Regions from separate parts of the Homo sapiens genome. Here region 2 is linked to region 1. Evidence: promoter capture Hi-C in 16 types of primary human blood cells and fetal thymus (Javierre and others, 2016). All regions are on one chromosome and are shown on one strand. Each heading gives the region's core, a stretch centred on a gene start or on the middle of the fragment in contact. The rest is flanking DNA. Distances are from core to core; before and after follow the strand shown.

What was found. Contacts are between HindIII fragments. The CHiCAGO score rates a contact against its expected background, and 5 or more counts as called.
Region 2: a contact is called between a fragment that was not itself captured here and the fragment with the promoter of AGTR1 in region 1, in 1 of 17 cell types (megakaryocytes). The highest score is 7.8, in megakaryocytes.

Annotation. Positions count from the first base shown.
Region 1 is chr3:148,693,137-148,700,574 of GRCh38, reverse strand. It overlaps AGTR1 (angiotensin II receptor type 1), which reads right to left and starts at 2,672. Exons shown (of 3, transcript NM_000685.5): 1 at 2,448-2,672. It also overlaps the pseudogene RPL38P1. The HindIII fragment of the contact is 4,344 bases long and covers 879-5,222 here.
Region 2 is chr3:148,379,178-148,386,615 of GRCh38, reverse strand. All of the region lies in intron 4 of LINC02046 (long intergenic non-protein coding RNA 2046), which reads right to left. It overlaps LOC105374147 (a long non-coding RNA gene), which reads left to right. Exons shown (of 4, transcript XR_924566.2): 4 at 1,747-2,774. Among named protein-coding and RNA genes, the nearest start is that of LINC02046, 100 kb to the right of the region's middle. The HindIII fragment of the contact is 323 bases long and covers 4,625-4,947 here.

The sequences.
Region 1 (7,438 bases), core at 1,423-3,922:
ACTGACCAGAAAAAGGGCTAGGTAAACTAATAAGCATGCGGCTAGAGGGCAGGAGCTCGCATTAAGCAGCCAAAACACCTAAATGTGAGGGGTCACTATTTTTGTCCCTGTAACAAATTCGAAAGCAAAATACAGCAACTCTCAGTTATCTGCTTGAAAGGACACTGTGGCAGCACAGATAAAATGACAGCAGACATGCATCATGCATTTAAACTATGAGTTTTAAATTCCTTCTCAGCTAAGCATTTTACCTGGGCTTTGGGTAAGTAGCAGAGTAAACTTTTCTTCCTTATTTTCCCTCTAGCATAGGGGAAAATTAGTCATTAGTATTAATTAGTCATAATTGAAATAATAACAGCAGTCGTAAGTAGCAGCAGGAACAAAAAACCAAAACAAAATTATATACACAAATACTCACACAACTCTGATCCCAAACTAGAAAGAAGAAAAAGAAAAGTGAGAAACCTGAACAACCCACAAATCTGCCCTTTTCTGAATACTGACCCACGATAAGAGAGAGAAAGACTGAAGCTTAGAATGCTGTGGGACAGCAGCATTGCCGCAGCACCTGTGACTGAAAGACATTTTGCAAATCGCAAGGAAGACAAGTCTTCCATTGGCATCAGTGGAACCGGTGGAAGAAAACCAATTTTATTCTGAGTTGGATGATGGAAGAGTTGATTCAGTTTAAGGTCAAAGAAGAGCAGAACCAGAAATCAAGGCCTCAGGATGGGAACAAAGAACAATGAAGTCAGGGGGAAAAAAGGTGGCGGGGAGAGAGAGTGGGTAACAGACTTGAAACTAAGAATCACAAAACTTAAGCAAATGTTGAGACCTAGCAATTATGATGGGCAGTTTCTATAACCTAGCCTTAAGCTTAGACTTTTATTTTAAAGCAATAACCAAAACAAAAGAAATTAAGGAATTATATCACTGGAGGGAACCTTATGGGCAGAGACTTGAGGTTCAGAGTTGTGAAATAATGCTCTTACTATCACACAGCAAGTTAAGTGGGAGTCTCCATTTCCCTTCTCCCCATGCTTTCCTGCCCCTGCACTGTCAGGAAGGGTGGTGGAGAGGAAGGAGAAGGTACCAGGGCACCCGGGAATACATCACAGCCTGAGGACAGGTTATGCAGGTGGGGCCTTTATAGCTAGGGAAACACCGGAGAAGACAAGGGAAGTATGGCAGTTTCTTCCTTAGAGAAGACTTATAAGGGGGTTAAAGCATATGCTATGTGAAATAAACACCTGGAGATCCAAAACCCTCAGGTGGTAACTAATAATAAGAGAATCATGTTGGGATGCAGCATCTTCAGCGGGAAGCACAAGTTGCTCAACAAAGTAATAAAATAGATCAATAGGGTGCCAAATTTCTTGCCTCTATTACTTTCTCTTCTCAGAATGACACAGGAAATAAATGTAGCCAAGTCCCAAATCTGATCCCAGTACCCAAACTTTCATTAAAAGAGGGCTCCTGAAGGGGGGGAGTAGGTTTTTAATACTTAACGAGGCTATCAGCAAACAAAGAGAAGAGGCCCAGGTGGGCTCAATAGCCAGGTCACAAATGGTTGCCCAAAGAAAAAAACGGTGCAGAAGGAGACGCTTTGGGGAAGAATTGCTGAGGTCTTCGGGAGACTATAGCAGGCTGGCACTATGGAGATGTTTACCTGGACATTTAAGAAAATTGGAGGATGGAGTTGGGTGTCGGGCAGTGGCCTGCCAGAGGCTCTGTTTAGTCCTGGAAGCAGGAGACCTTTTGCTAAAATTCTGTCTCAGTTACACACATGCATTGGCTAAGGCTGTAGGGATTGGGGTGTGGAGACATCTTGCTTCTCCTTCCTCAGTTTGATTATTCAAAGGACATCTGGGAACCCTGAGGGTGGGAGAGTTTGGCCAAGGTTGGAGCGATGTCCCGTGTCTAGGACCCACCGCTATGGTTTGCAGGGAGAGAGCTAAAGGGACGTGAGCAGTGCAGGGACATTGACTGGGAAGCAGAGGGCGTGGATGGAGACACTCTTAACTTCACCTCAAAAGTAGCACAACTTTTAAACGAACGCCTTGCAGAGTCATACCGGCTTCCCGCTCAGATGATGGCTAAAATACAAGAGTTAACTAAAAGCCTCAGGAAGAAAGTTTATTGAATTGCATCTTATTTCTGTAGATTTCTTCCTTGCACTCGGAAGAGTTTGGTTAAAATGGATTGAGAATTTCGAGGCACGTGGCAAACAAACCTACCTTGTTCCCTCCCATTCCAGAAGCCCCTCACCTGATTTGGGAAAGTGTGGCCAGCTCCAGGGGCAGGCGCTGACCAGAACTACGGTCGCTCTTTCCTTGGTCCCCGAGAGCTTCCCAGTATAGAGCCAGCAGTTAGGACACCGTGACATGAAACTTAGCACCCCGCCCTTGAAGTCCCCCAAGCATGCCTGGCGGTCCGCGCGGACTCACCCGCGCCCCGGGCGCTGCGTCACGTCCCGCCGAGGGCCGGCTGCGCTGGTGCGGGTCTCCCGCCCGCCGCCTCGGCGTCCCGGCTGTGCGCCCTCACTCGCTGGGTCCGCTCCAGCCGCTCCCCATCGATCACCGCCGCGGCCCGGCAGAGCTGCTAGCGGCGCGCCGGTCCAGACGTCCTGTCACTCGCTGCTGCCTGGGGTCCTGGCTGTCAGGCGCTGGAATCATTGGCGAGGAGGCAGCTCCGAATTTATAGTGAGGGGCGTTGCTGCTTCTTGGGTTCCGGGGACGAGGCTCTGTTTTGCATTCCCTCCTCCTCCGCCCCGCCCCGGGAGACCCTCCCGGCCCAACCTCCTCCCTCTCGGGATATTGACGGCAGCAAGGATGATGCCACAGTCGTCCCGTGTCAACTATCAGATCAGCGTTCACCTGGTCCCGAACCCCGCCTAGCGAGGGGTCGTGAGGGAGAGCGAGCTGGGGGTACAGGAGTATCATTTCCTGCGGAGATTCGTGTTCTTCAACATTTTTTTTTTCTGAACTTGGAAAACTTTTAAGGACGAATTAGAGAACTTCTTTCTCTTTCCTATGAGTAACTCGAACTTTGGTAATACAGTTGTGGATCATAGATTACATGGATTAATTCCAGGGTTATGAAATTCAAGGGTGGACACTCATTTGTTCCTATTGGACATGCTACCCAAGTTGCATTTTAAAAATGTATTTTAAAAACCCAATAAATATTTAAAGAAGAAATAATATCAATTCTTCACAAACTCTTCCAAAAAATAGAAGAGTAAGGATGATCTCCCAACTCATGCTATGAGGCCAGTATCACCCTGATAACAAAACCAGATAAAGACATCACGAGACTACAGATCAATATTTCTTAAGAGTATAGATAAAAATTCTCAACAAAATGTAGGCAAATTGAATCCAATAACATATGAAAGGGACTATACACCATGGTCAAGTGAGGTTGATGCCAGAAAGCAAGATTAGATTAGTTTACCAAAAATCAATTAATGTTAGATAGGTGAGTAGGGTGACTGTAGTTTACAGTAATCTATTGTATATTTCAGAGTAGCTAGGAGAAAATAACTTGAATGTTTCTAGCATGAAGAAAAGACAAATATTTAAGGTGATGGATATGCCAATTGCACTGATTTGATCTTTATATGAATGCATTAAATTATTGCATGTACCTAAAAAGTCCTGTCACTCGCTGCTGCCTGGGGTCCTGGCTGTCAGGCGCTGGAATCATCGGCGAGGAGGCAGCTCCGAATTTATAGTGAGGGGCATTAAATTATTGCATGTACCTAAAAAGTGTACATCTATTGTGTATCAATAAAAATAAATTTAAAGAAGTAAAAAATGGACAAAGCCTACATGATTGTCTAAAAAAATTTTTAAAAACTATTGGACAAAATTCAACACTTTTTCATGCTAACACTCAACAAACTAGGAATAGGAACTTCCTCAAACTGTGAAGTTTATTTATGAAAAACTTAACTAATATCACACATAATAACGGAAGACAACGTTTTTATGTCTAAGATCAGGAACAAGACAAAATGTCTAGTCTTCCCATTTCTATTTAACTTTGTACTAAAGGTTCTAGTGAGGGCAATTGGACAAGAAAAAAAGATAAATGGCATCCAGATTAGAAAGAAAGTAAAACAATTTCTATTTGTAGATGACATGATCTTGTATTAAAAAGCCCTAAGGAATCAATTAATTAACTATTAGAACTAAGAAACAAGTTGAGCAAGTTTTTAGAATACAAGATCAATATACAAAAATCAGTTGTATTTCTATACACTAGCAATAAACAATCAACAAATGGAATTAAGAAAACAATTCCACTGTTGGCTTCTCACCACTTGCTGTGTGGGTCTGTGTCCTCTCCCTGCCTCACATGCTGCCATGCCTCAAAAAGTTAAGGAGATCAAGGACTTTCTGCTTACAGCCAGGTGAAAAGATGCCAGATCTGTCAAGGTCAAGAGAAATAAGGATAATGTGAAGTTTAAAGTTTGATGCAGCAGATACCTTCATACATTAGTCATCATAGACAAAGAGAAGGCAGAGAAACTGAAGCAGTTCTGGCACCCTGGTTTGTTAGAGAAGGAGATGAAATCAGACACACTGATTTGAACTGTGTTAAAAATTTAAAAATTCAAAGATAAAAACAATTTTACTTACTATAGATCAAAAGAGTAAAAATACTAAGAAATGACCTGGTGTAGTGGCTCACTCCTGTAATCTCAGCACTTTGGGAGGCCGAGGTGGGTGAATCACAAGGTCAGGGATTCGAGACCAGGCTGGCCAACATCGTGAAACCCTGTCTCTACTAAAAATGCAAAAGAAAAAAAAAAAAAAAAAGCCAGGCGTGGTGGTGCATGCCTGTAGTTCCAGCTACTCAGGAGGAGGAGGCTGAGGCAGAAGAATCGCTTGAACCCAGGAGGTAGAGGTTGCTGTGAGCTGAGATTGTGCCACTGCACTCCAGCCTGGGTGACAGAGTGAGACTCCATCTCAAAACAAACCAACCAACCAACAAAACAAAACAAAACAAAAAAAACCCTAAGAAATAAATTTAACAAAAGGATCTAAAACTTGTAGTCTGAAAACAAACAAAAAGAATTGTTGAAATAAGGTAGACCTAAATAAATGGAATGACATTCCATGTTCTTGGATTGAAAGATTTAATATCGTTACAATGGCATTAATCTTCAAATGATCTACAGGTTAAACAAAATCTCTATCAAAACCCAGCAAGCTTTTATTGCAGAAATGAATGGAGTTATCCTAAAAACATGTAGCAGTGCGAGGGGCCCAGAATAGTCAAGACAATTCTGAAAAAGAACAAACTTACCAATTTCAAAATTTACTGCAAAATTACAATAAACAAGACAATGTGGTACTGGCATAGCAATAGATAGAAAGATCAATGGAACAGAATTGTGTCCACAAACTAAACCCTTACATTTATGAGCCACTAGATTTTGAAAAGGGTTGAAAAAATGCAGAATGAGTAATCTTTATTACAAATGGTACTGGAATAATTGGATATCTGCATGCAGAAGAATGAAGTTGGACTCCTTATAATACCACATGTAAAAATTAAGTCAAAATGGATCATAGACCCAAGCTTAAGAGAAAAATTATAAAACTAAATAGAAAACGTAGGAGTAAACCTTTGTTACCTTGGGTTATGCAAAGCCATCTTAGATACAACTCCAAAAGCATAAGAAATACAAGAAAAAGTAGGTAAATTAATTTGATTTCATCAATATTAACAGCATCTATACTTCCAAGGGTATCAAGAAAGTGAAAAGAAAAAGCCAAGAATGTGCAAAGATATTTGCAAATTATATACCTGATAAGGACTTGTGTATAGAACATATAAAGATAATAAAGCACACACAAAGATAATAAAAACACCATTAAAAATGGTCAAAGGATCTTAATATACATTTCTCTAAAGAAGGTAGACAAACACATAAAAAAACTCAACATTATTAGCCAGCAGGAAAATGCAACTCAAAGGAACAATTAGTTATGATTTTAGGCCTACTAGGATAGCTATAATCAAAAAGTCAGATAGTAACAAGTGTTGTCCAGAATGTGGAGAAATTGGATCCCTCATATATTGTTGGTGGGAATATAAAATAGTGCAGCCATTTTGGAAAACAGTGGCAATTCTTCAAAATGCTAAGCATAGATAGAGTTACCATATGGCTCAGCAATTCCATTCCTAGGTATATACTCATTAGAAATGAAAACATATGTCCACACAAAAATGTAGACGTGAAAATTCATAGCAGCATTATTCATAATAGCCCCAAAGCAGAAATAAGTCAAATATCTATCAACTGATGAATAGATAAAATGTGATATCTCCATACCATAGGATATTGTTTGGCAATAAAAGGGAATAAAGTACATGTTACACATGGAAGTGCCTTGAAAACCTTGTGCTAATTGAAAGAAGCCAGTCACAGAAGAAGACATATTATATGATTTCATTTATATGAAATATTCAGGAGTGACATAACTGTAGAGAATTTTGATTGCCTAGGCTGAGAGTGGAGGGGTAGGAGGGAATGGTAGTGTCTGCTAATTGGACGATGATAAAAAATTGTACATTTGATTATGGTGATCATTACACAACTTTTGTATGTTTGAAAACATACAAAAAACATTGAACTGTACATCTTTGTTAAAAGACAAACCTAGTCAAATTAAATTTAACAGTGCTTAATTGAGCAAAGAGTGATGTGCAAATCGGGCAGCCACTGAACTGCAATAGGTTCAGAGAGACTCCAGCACTGCCTCGTGGTTGAAAAAGATTTATGGGCAGAAAAAGGAAAGTGATGTAAAGAAGACAAAAATGAGGTACAGAAATAGAATTGGTTATAATTTGGCATTTGCCTTATTTGAACACAGTTTGAACAACTGACCACCTTAGATATGCTGAAACTCTGTGATTGGCACAAGAGTAGGTTTCAGTCTTTTCAGCATCCAGTTAGGTTACAGTTCACTACATGCTGAGAAACTTTTAGGCCAAATTTAAAATACGTAAGGAAGCAGCTTTAGGATAAACTTAATTCTTTAAATGGGTGAACTGTATAGTATGTAGAGTATATATAAGTAAAGCTATTTTAAAAAGGTAAAATATGAAATTTGTGTAGATGAGTAAAGACATGAATGTCTGACTTTTGTTTCTTGCTTCCAAGTTTCTGAAGAGAGAAGAGGGGCTCAGTTCCTATCTTTCATGCAATGGCTAACACCTCTGTGCTAGACCACATTGTGGATCAGGAAAGTAATATAAATTATTAATAATTAAAACCTATTTTTAAAATAAAGGTTTTTATTTAGCAACATACCATATGTTGAAATGACTTACATGTTTTGAATTTTCATTAAATTAAAAATGGCAAATTTACTTAAATATAATCAAGCATGTAGTAAGCATAGGTTTCTGCAGGAGAACT
Region 2 (7,438 bases), core at 3,537-6,036, 320 kb after region 1:
AAATATCACATGGTCTTGGCTAGAAATATTTCGTTGACGAATTTTTCCCAATTAGCCTGTGTATTTTGTATAACAGCAATCAAAATTACAAAGGGTTTTTAATTGAAAAATTTATAAAATATATCCTGAAAAATAAGTGGACAAAAATATCCAGCCAAATTCTGAAAAAGATGTGTAATGAAGGGGACTAACCTTATCAAATATGAAAGTGTCATTTAAACTAGATTGATTGAAACTGTAATGAGAATCCAAGAATGGACAGATCAATTAAAAAGAACAAAGTCTCTACAAATTAGCAGAAGAATTAAATATCTGACAAGAGTAGTTTTTGAATCACTGAGCAAGGTTCTGGTTATACAAAAAAAAAAAAAAAAGTGAGAGGCAATTGGATACATATTTGAGAACCAAAATAAAGAAAACAAATAAAGCTCTTATGCCTTGTATAAGCATAAATTCCACATATATTAATGATGTAATTTAAATACTAGAAAATATAATAGATGAATATTTTTATAATTTTGATATTCAGAAGCCCTCTAAGCACATGTCAATGGTAGAATACACAGAGTAAAATATTGATATACCTGATTAAGTACAAATTAATACATTGTGTTTGGCAAATACACTACAAAATATTAGAAAAATTATGCTGGAAATATATATTTATGAAACACCTATTCTAATAATGTTGCTAGTTACAAAACAACAGAAAATTACTGGTTAACATTAGCCTAAAGGTTGTTTTGGGAGTTGCTCACAGAACCAACAGGAAGGCTTGAGAAGCAAGTTTAATTAGAAGCAAGATGGAACAAGTACAGCAAAGGCACTGTACCAAAATGGCATATTTTCACTAAGAGTTCATGGGGAAGCTTTGGGGCTTTTTATTTAACACAGGTATCTCAAATTATTTCTAAAAGACTCTCTGTATTGAATTACCTCCTCTAGATTCAATATCCCCCACAGAAGCATCTGATTGGCCATCCTTAGGGCATTTGACTCCAATGTACTTGCTATACTAGGTTGGAGAGAGAAAATGGCATGTCTTATTTGGCTTCCTGAGTGGGAGGCAGCATGGAATTCTCTCATATTAGAAAGGATATTTATTTTTTCGGCAGCCTGAACAATTATTCTCTACTAAGAAGTTTATATTTCTTTTCATTTGAAAACCTTTTGTAAATCAAATAAGGAAAAAATAACCAAATAGGGAAAAAAAGAGCAAACAGCACAAAAATGTAATGTAGAAGTAGAAATACAATGACTAATAAGCCTATCACATGTCTAACTTTTCTAGTAATCAAATAGTGCAAATTATTGAAACAATTAAAATAAGAAAAAAATTGATTAGCCAAAAGTATTAAAGTTTTGAAATAGCCAGTGAAGTTAGTGAAGATAAGAGGAAATGGATACTTTGATACAGTGTTGGTGGAAATATAAGTTGATTGAATCATCTCAACTATATTTGTACCAGTACATTAGCTTCATAAAAGCTGCCATTCTTTTCTGTTTTGATTATTGCCATATTCAAAAAGACTACAATAGTGCCTGAGAAACATTGCAAATTCTTAATAAATGCTTGTTCAGTAAATTAATATCAACATTTAAAATCTAATGGTCTTTTGCTATATAATTCCACTCCTAAAAGTTTACCCAAAGGATGTAAACATGTGTCTTAGTCTGTTTTGTGCTATTATAACAGACTGTCACAAACTGGGTAGTTTATAAAAAACAAAAATTCATTTCTCACAGTTCTGGATGCTGGGAAGTGTAAGATCAAGATGGTGGCAGGTTCGACTGGTGAGAGTTGCATTCTCCAGATGGAAGAAACATTGTGTCCTCATCTGGTGGAAGGTGGAAGGGTAAGCTACCAAGCACTCTGCAAAGATCCTTTAAAAGGGTCTTAATCCCATTCATGAGGGACGAACCCTCATGACCTAATCACCTCTTACAGACTCTACCTCTTAATACTTTCACATTGGCAACACCTGATTTTGGAGGTAATATATTCAAACCCATAGCAACAAGTATGCAAAATAGAAATCAAGTATATACAGATTTTACTTTGTCTATTAAAGTGTGAGAAAAACAATATGAATGCTCAACAATCAGTTACTGGTTAACTATATTATGGTCTCTACAAGTAGTGAAATATTATATAGTTTTAAAAATATATATCTATATTTTTTAACATGAAATAATGTCCATGACACATTACTGAGTGCAAGAAAAGCAGTTTGCAAATGTTCCATTAGATCTGATTTTTATTTTTTCAAAAGGAAGTTACTATAGGTGCATACTTATCTAGACAGAGCCTGCTAATTATATACATCAAAATAGTAAGAGTGGAATATCCTCTACCCCTTTTTTTCTTTTCCCCTCCTGAATAATTCAGTCCAAAACCCATTAGGCAGGGTGTCTATAAAGGTAAGGAAATGACACCAGACAGTAGTTGCAATCCCTCCACAATTCTCACTTCCAAAGCAAACAAAACAAAACAAAACAAACAACAACATTCTTGACTAGTACTTCTTATTTTTCCAGGCTTATTTATCCTGGTTCCCTGATCCTCAAAATTTTTGTGATGTATAATCCAGTGATTGTTCTGCCTGACATCTCTGCCTCTCCCAAATATTCTTCTTTCCTTTCTTATTAGCCTAAATTCCATCACTTTCTAACATACACCCTCAGCTTCCTCTTCTCTCCCTTTCTAAGCAATCATTCTGTTTTCTTGGGAAATACTAGCAAAAAGCAATCCCTACGTTGGTAAGTTATGTCAGGTAATGGTAACAGCTATGGAGAAAAATAAAGTGTGGATGTAATTTTATATAGCATTTATTGTGGCACTATTGATAATAGCAAAGACTTGGAACCAACCCAAATGCTCATTAATAATAGATTGGATAAAGAAAACATGGCACATATACACCATGGAATACTATGCAGCCATAAAAAAGAATGAGTTCATGTCTTTTGCAGGGACGTGGATGAAGCTGGAAACCATCATTCTCAGCAAACTATTACAAGAACAGAAAACCAAGCACCACATCTTCTCACTTATAAGTGGGAGTTGAACAATGAGAACACATGGACATAGGGAGGGGAACATCACACACCGGGGCCTGTCAGATGGTGGGGAGCTGGGGGAGGGATAACATTAGGAGAAATACCTAGTGTAGATGACAGGTTGATGGGTGCAGCAAACCACCATGGCACGTGTATACCTATGGAACAAAACTGCACGTTTTGCACATGTACCGCAGAACTTAATAACAATAAGAAGAAGAACAGTACTGTGGCTGGAGCAGGATACTGTTGTGGGGGATGGGGAGTGAAGCAATAGTAAAAGATGATCTCAGAGAATTACAGGTGGCCAGACATATAGGGCCTTAAGTTACTACCTAAAATCCTAACCTCTCTTAACATTTTGACATATTTTCTTCTAGTTTTGTTACTTATCTAAACGTTTCATATAGTTGATATTATATCACCTATCTTATTTTCTTGCACTAAGCCTTTTTTATAACATTACCCCTTCAGCAATTTTTCCAATGGCACAACACTTCCAACATATTTTAAATTACTGCATAATATATTATCATGTATACATACGCAATGTCATTACTACGTACTGGTCATTGAAATTATTCACAGGCAGAAAGAAGATAAGGAGTAACAGTCTAATGATTCTGCAACTCAGCATCAGGCATCCTTATTTCGACTCTCTCCTGACTCTGTAGAACAGTTCTTGCCTCATTTGCAAGACTGCGTACACCTTCCCTATTCCTTTTTTCTTTCTTTTTAAAGAAAAATCTAGCCCATTACAGCACCCATATCTTGATAAGGTTCTTGTTTTCTTGTTTCTGGGGCTGAAAACTCTGCAGTTCTTGGATGCAGTTTCTATAAAAATAAATCACTCATTTCTCTAGACTTATTTCTTAGACAAAATAAAGATGTTACATGGACTTGTTATATATTAATACAGTATTACACAAGTCTATGATAAAAAGTATATTACCACATAGCCAACTTTCAATTTTTCTATTATGAAGTGCCAATATGATGTTTGGAGTAAAACAAGAAAGATGCATGGCTTTTGTAACTTACAAATAATTTAACTCACCTAAACAATGAGAGAAATATGCTATATTGAGGACCTTATTAGTTCATTATGATTCAAGAATTTTTAAAACAATGCCTGGGTCCTTTGCACCACACAGCTGGAATATGGCTGGAGGTGCTCTGAATCATGGAGAATCCAGAAAGAGAAGTATAGAATAAAGATTGATAAGGAATACACCAAGCAGATGTTTTATTTCTTCCTTTTGGGGATAATTCTAGAGATTATCACAATATAGTCTGTGGGAGGTGGAGAGAGAACAGGTAACTGGGATAACCCTGAAGTAGCTGGGAAACTCCATGTCTTTAGCACAAAGTTCTGTCAATAAAACCAAACACTGGCTTTCAGTTATAAAGACCCTGCTAGGTCAGCATCTTCCGCACTGCCTTATTGAATTGGGATTTAGTAACATAACTTGGATCTTAATCCCAAAAGTGATCAAAAGATCTGCATCATCATATCAGCCTTTACTAAGTATTAGGGGCATATTGGATGTGATGCTGAAAAGCTTCTTTCTGGTTCCTAAGGATCTTGGTGCTTTAGTGAGATAAACTAGTTATTGCTACTTGGTTTTAAAAATGGCCATGGATATTAGTAATGTACTTAACGATTACTTAAATAGCATAACAAAGGGAGCTGAATTTTCTCTGACCATAACCTGCCTCCTGCTATCTTTGCTGTGTTTGTATGTATGTTTGTGTGAGGGGGACATTTGAAAAGCACAATACTGTGAATATATAGTATGTTCACTTCAAACTTTAATTCAGAAAACGAAACCTCAAGGAGAAGAAACATTTGAAACCCAGATAAATGCCATTTTTGTCTTTCAAGCTTATGGAAAAGTTTCCTCCCTAAATCTTCCCCAATGCATCCAGATTATGGCTTCCGGTGGAGCTTCCTAATCACACAGTAGGGAAGATACATTAATGGAAGTCAGAGTAGGGTATTGAATGGACTAATGGAAGCTTTTTAAGAATTCCAAGTACTCTTCATATTAGAACCTTTGTCATAAAGGTGACAATATTAACAATAATAATCCTCTCTAACAAAAGACTAATATCAGGTCTGGCTCCATAAGAGCCACTGGTTCCCCTGTGCTCCGTCCGAGGATGCCCTGATTTCCATTTCTAGTCCTGAGCACATATTGTTCAATTTAATAACCTAAATTTTCACGAGTAAAACAGATCTTCAGAATGAATTCAGTAATTAGCTTCCCCGTTAGGGGGCTCATTTAATTTCAAAGCTAATGCTATCCACGTTTCCGTTTCTAATTAATCCAAATATAGCAATGCTATAGTAACCAGACAACATGTTCTTTGAAGAGCTGAAGCTATGACATTGTCATGACATCAGCAGACTTTCATTAGTGATATGATTTTAGAACACACTTTAAAACAAATGGAATCTTTTCTTGTCTATTTTCTTGACTTACTGGTTTTGTTTTGTGATTTTAAAATGTTTGAAATATATGCAACCTCTTCCAGTCTGATTTCTTAAGAAGTTTTTAGCTATTTATAAACAAGATAAATGCTTTCATAAGATTCAGAATAGAAGAATAGAGGTTGAGATTATTTTGAGATCAATGTCCTTGAGAAATTTAAGACAGCTATGGAAAGTTTCCTTGAGAAGTATTAGAAAGAAATATATAACTACCTGGCAGCATAAATAATCAGATTCCATTTGATTAGAGGATTTGGCATATGTGAAATTATGTAATGCTAGAATCCTGCCTTTAGCTCTTTCCAGGAATATTTATAGATATTTATAATTTGTATATTTTTGTGTTATATGTAGATGCACATATATGTGTACATATATATCCATATTTGAAGCTATAGTTATTCTTCCCTTAAAAATATCATTAAATGGAATATGGCATTGGCCTGTTTCCTGTTCAGTCATAAGGAGGATTATTTAAATGTGGTTAACTGCATGTCACATTTTCAAATTACATTGTCAAGGTTTTTCTACAGGAAGGATGAAATTAGAGATTTACCAACAGGTAAACATATTAATATAACTATACAACGATATATTATATATGTTCATACGTAGGAAGCAAAATGAAATAAATAAATAATAATAGACTGGTTAGCTGAAGGAGAGTCAAAGTTGTTCTAATCATTTATTTGGAGGTCAATCTGGCAGTTTTGTCTGGAAAAAGTCTGATCAGTTTACAGAAACAATAGGCTTGAGACAACCCCAAAAAAAGTGTAAGAACTATCTGATCAAAAGGATCACAAACAGAGAAAAATGAAAAGAAGCAATCAGTGAGCGATCCAAGGCCTACTGCCATCAAAATTACTGTTGAGAACAATGAGATAAATTGGATCCTCCCTGAGTGGTTGGAATTATGATTAGGACAGCTTTCTAAGAATGATTTTTAAATGGTTTGGATGAGGTTTTTAAGTGAGAATGAGACATTAACAGTTTTTAAAACCTTCAAGAAAAATGGTCAAGCTGTAAGAATGTTTGACCTCTGCTTCCTAGAACCAAAGCAAAGACAGGCTGTTTCATAAGAACAGAGCACCACCTTGTGTTAGTAAGTTATTACACCTCCTTGGGACACCTAAGGGAGGTTCTTTCCATCGTATTAAGTGAGAGCCTGTCAGTAATGCTCTTGAGTACAACAGGCAAGTGTCATAGCTTCCTACCATTTTACGCTCTAAGCCTTATGTAGTGTCTGTGTTTGTGTTCCTAGGAAGATAGAGAAAATGATGTAGAGAGGTGATGAATCGGACAAAACAAAAAATACTTTTTTGTATTTTTAATATGAATGCTTTTATCTCAGGAAGGAATTTATAAACTAAATTCATAGCACTGATACCACATTGTTTTTGCATTTAACACATCATATTCATTGCTTCTTAACATGAACTAGGTTAAGTACCAAATCTCAATGAAGCAATTTTGAATTTAAAATAATTTAGAAGTGCATTATTTCTGGAGTCTTCAAATAATTGTTAAGGAACGATGAAAGATCTAAAAATCTTAAGATGAAAGTAAAATCCCCTTAGATTTTTCTAGTAAAGACACAACACTTATAAAGTAAGAAGAAACATTAGTCGAATAGCATTAAAAATCTTCACTTTCCTATAATTGCTGCCCTAGAAATTTTATCTTTTACATAAAGAGAAACTTAAAGCCATGCAACAAATGTAAATATCTTGTTCATTCTTCAAAATTAAACTCAAATCTTAACGAACAGTCTTCTGTGGTCACTAGTGTTCTTGTGGCACTTGATTTGTAAAATTAAAACTTGTTTTGTATTAAAATGGTTTTTGCTCATGTTTCATCGCCTCTAGCATATCTTCAGCTCTTTGG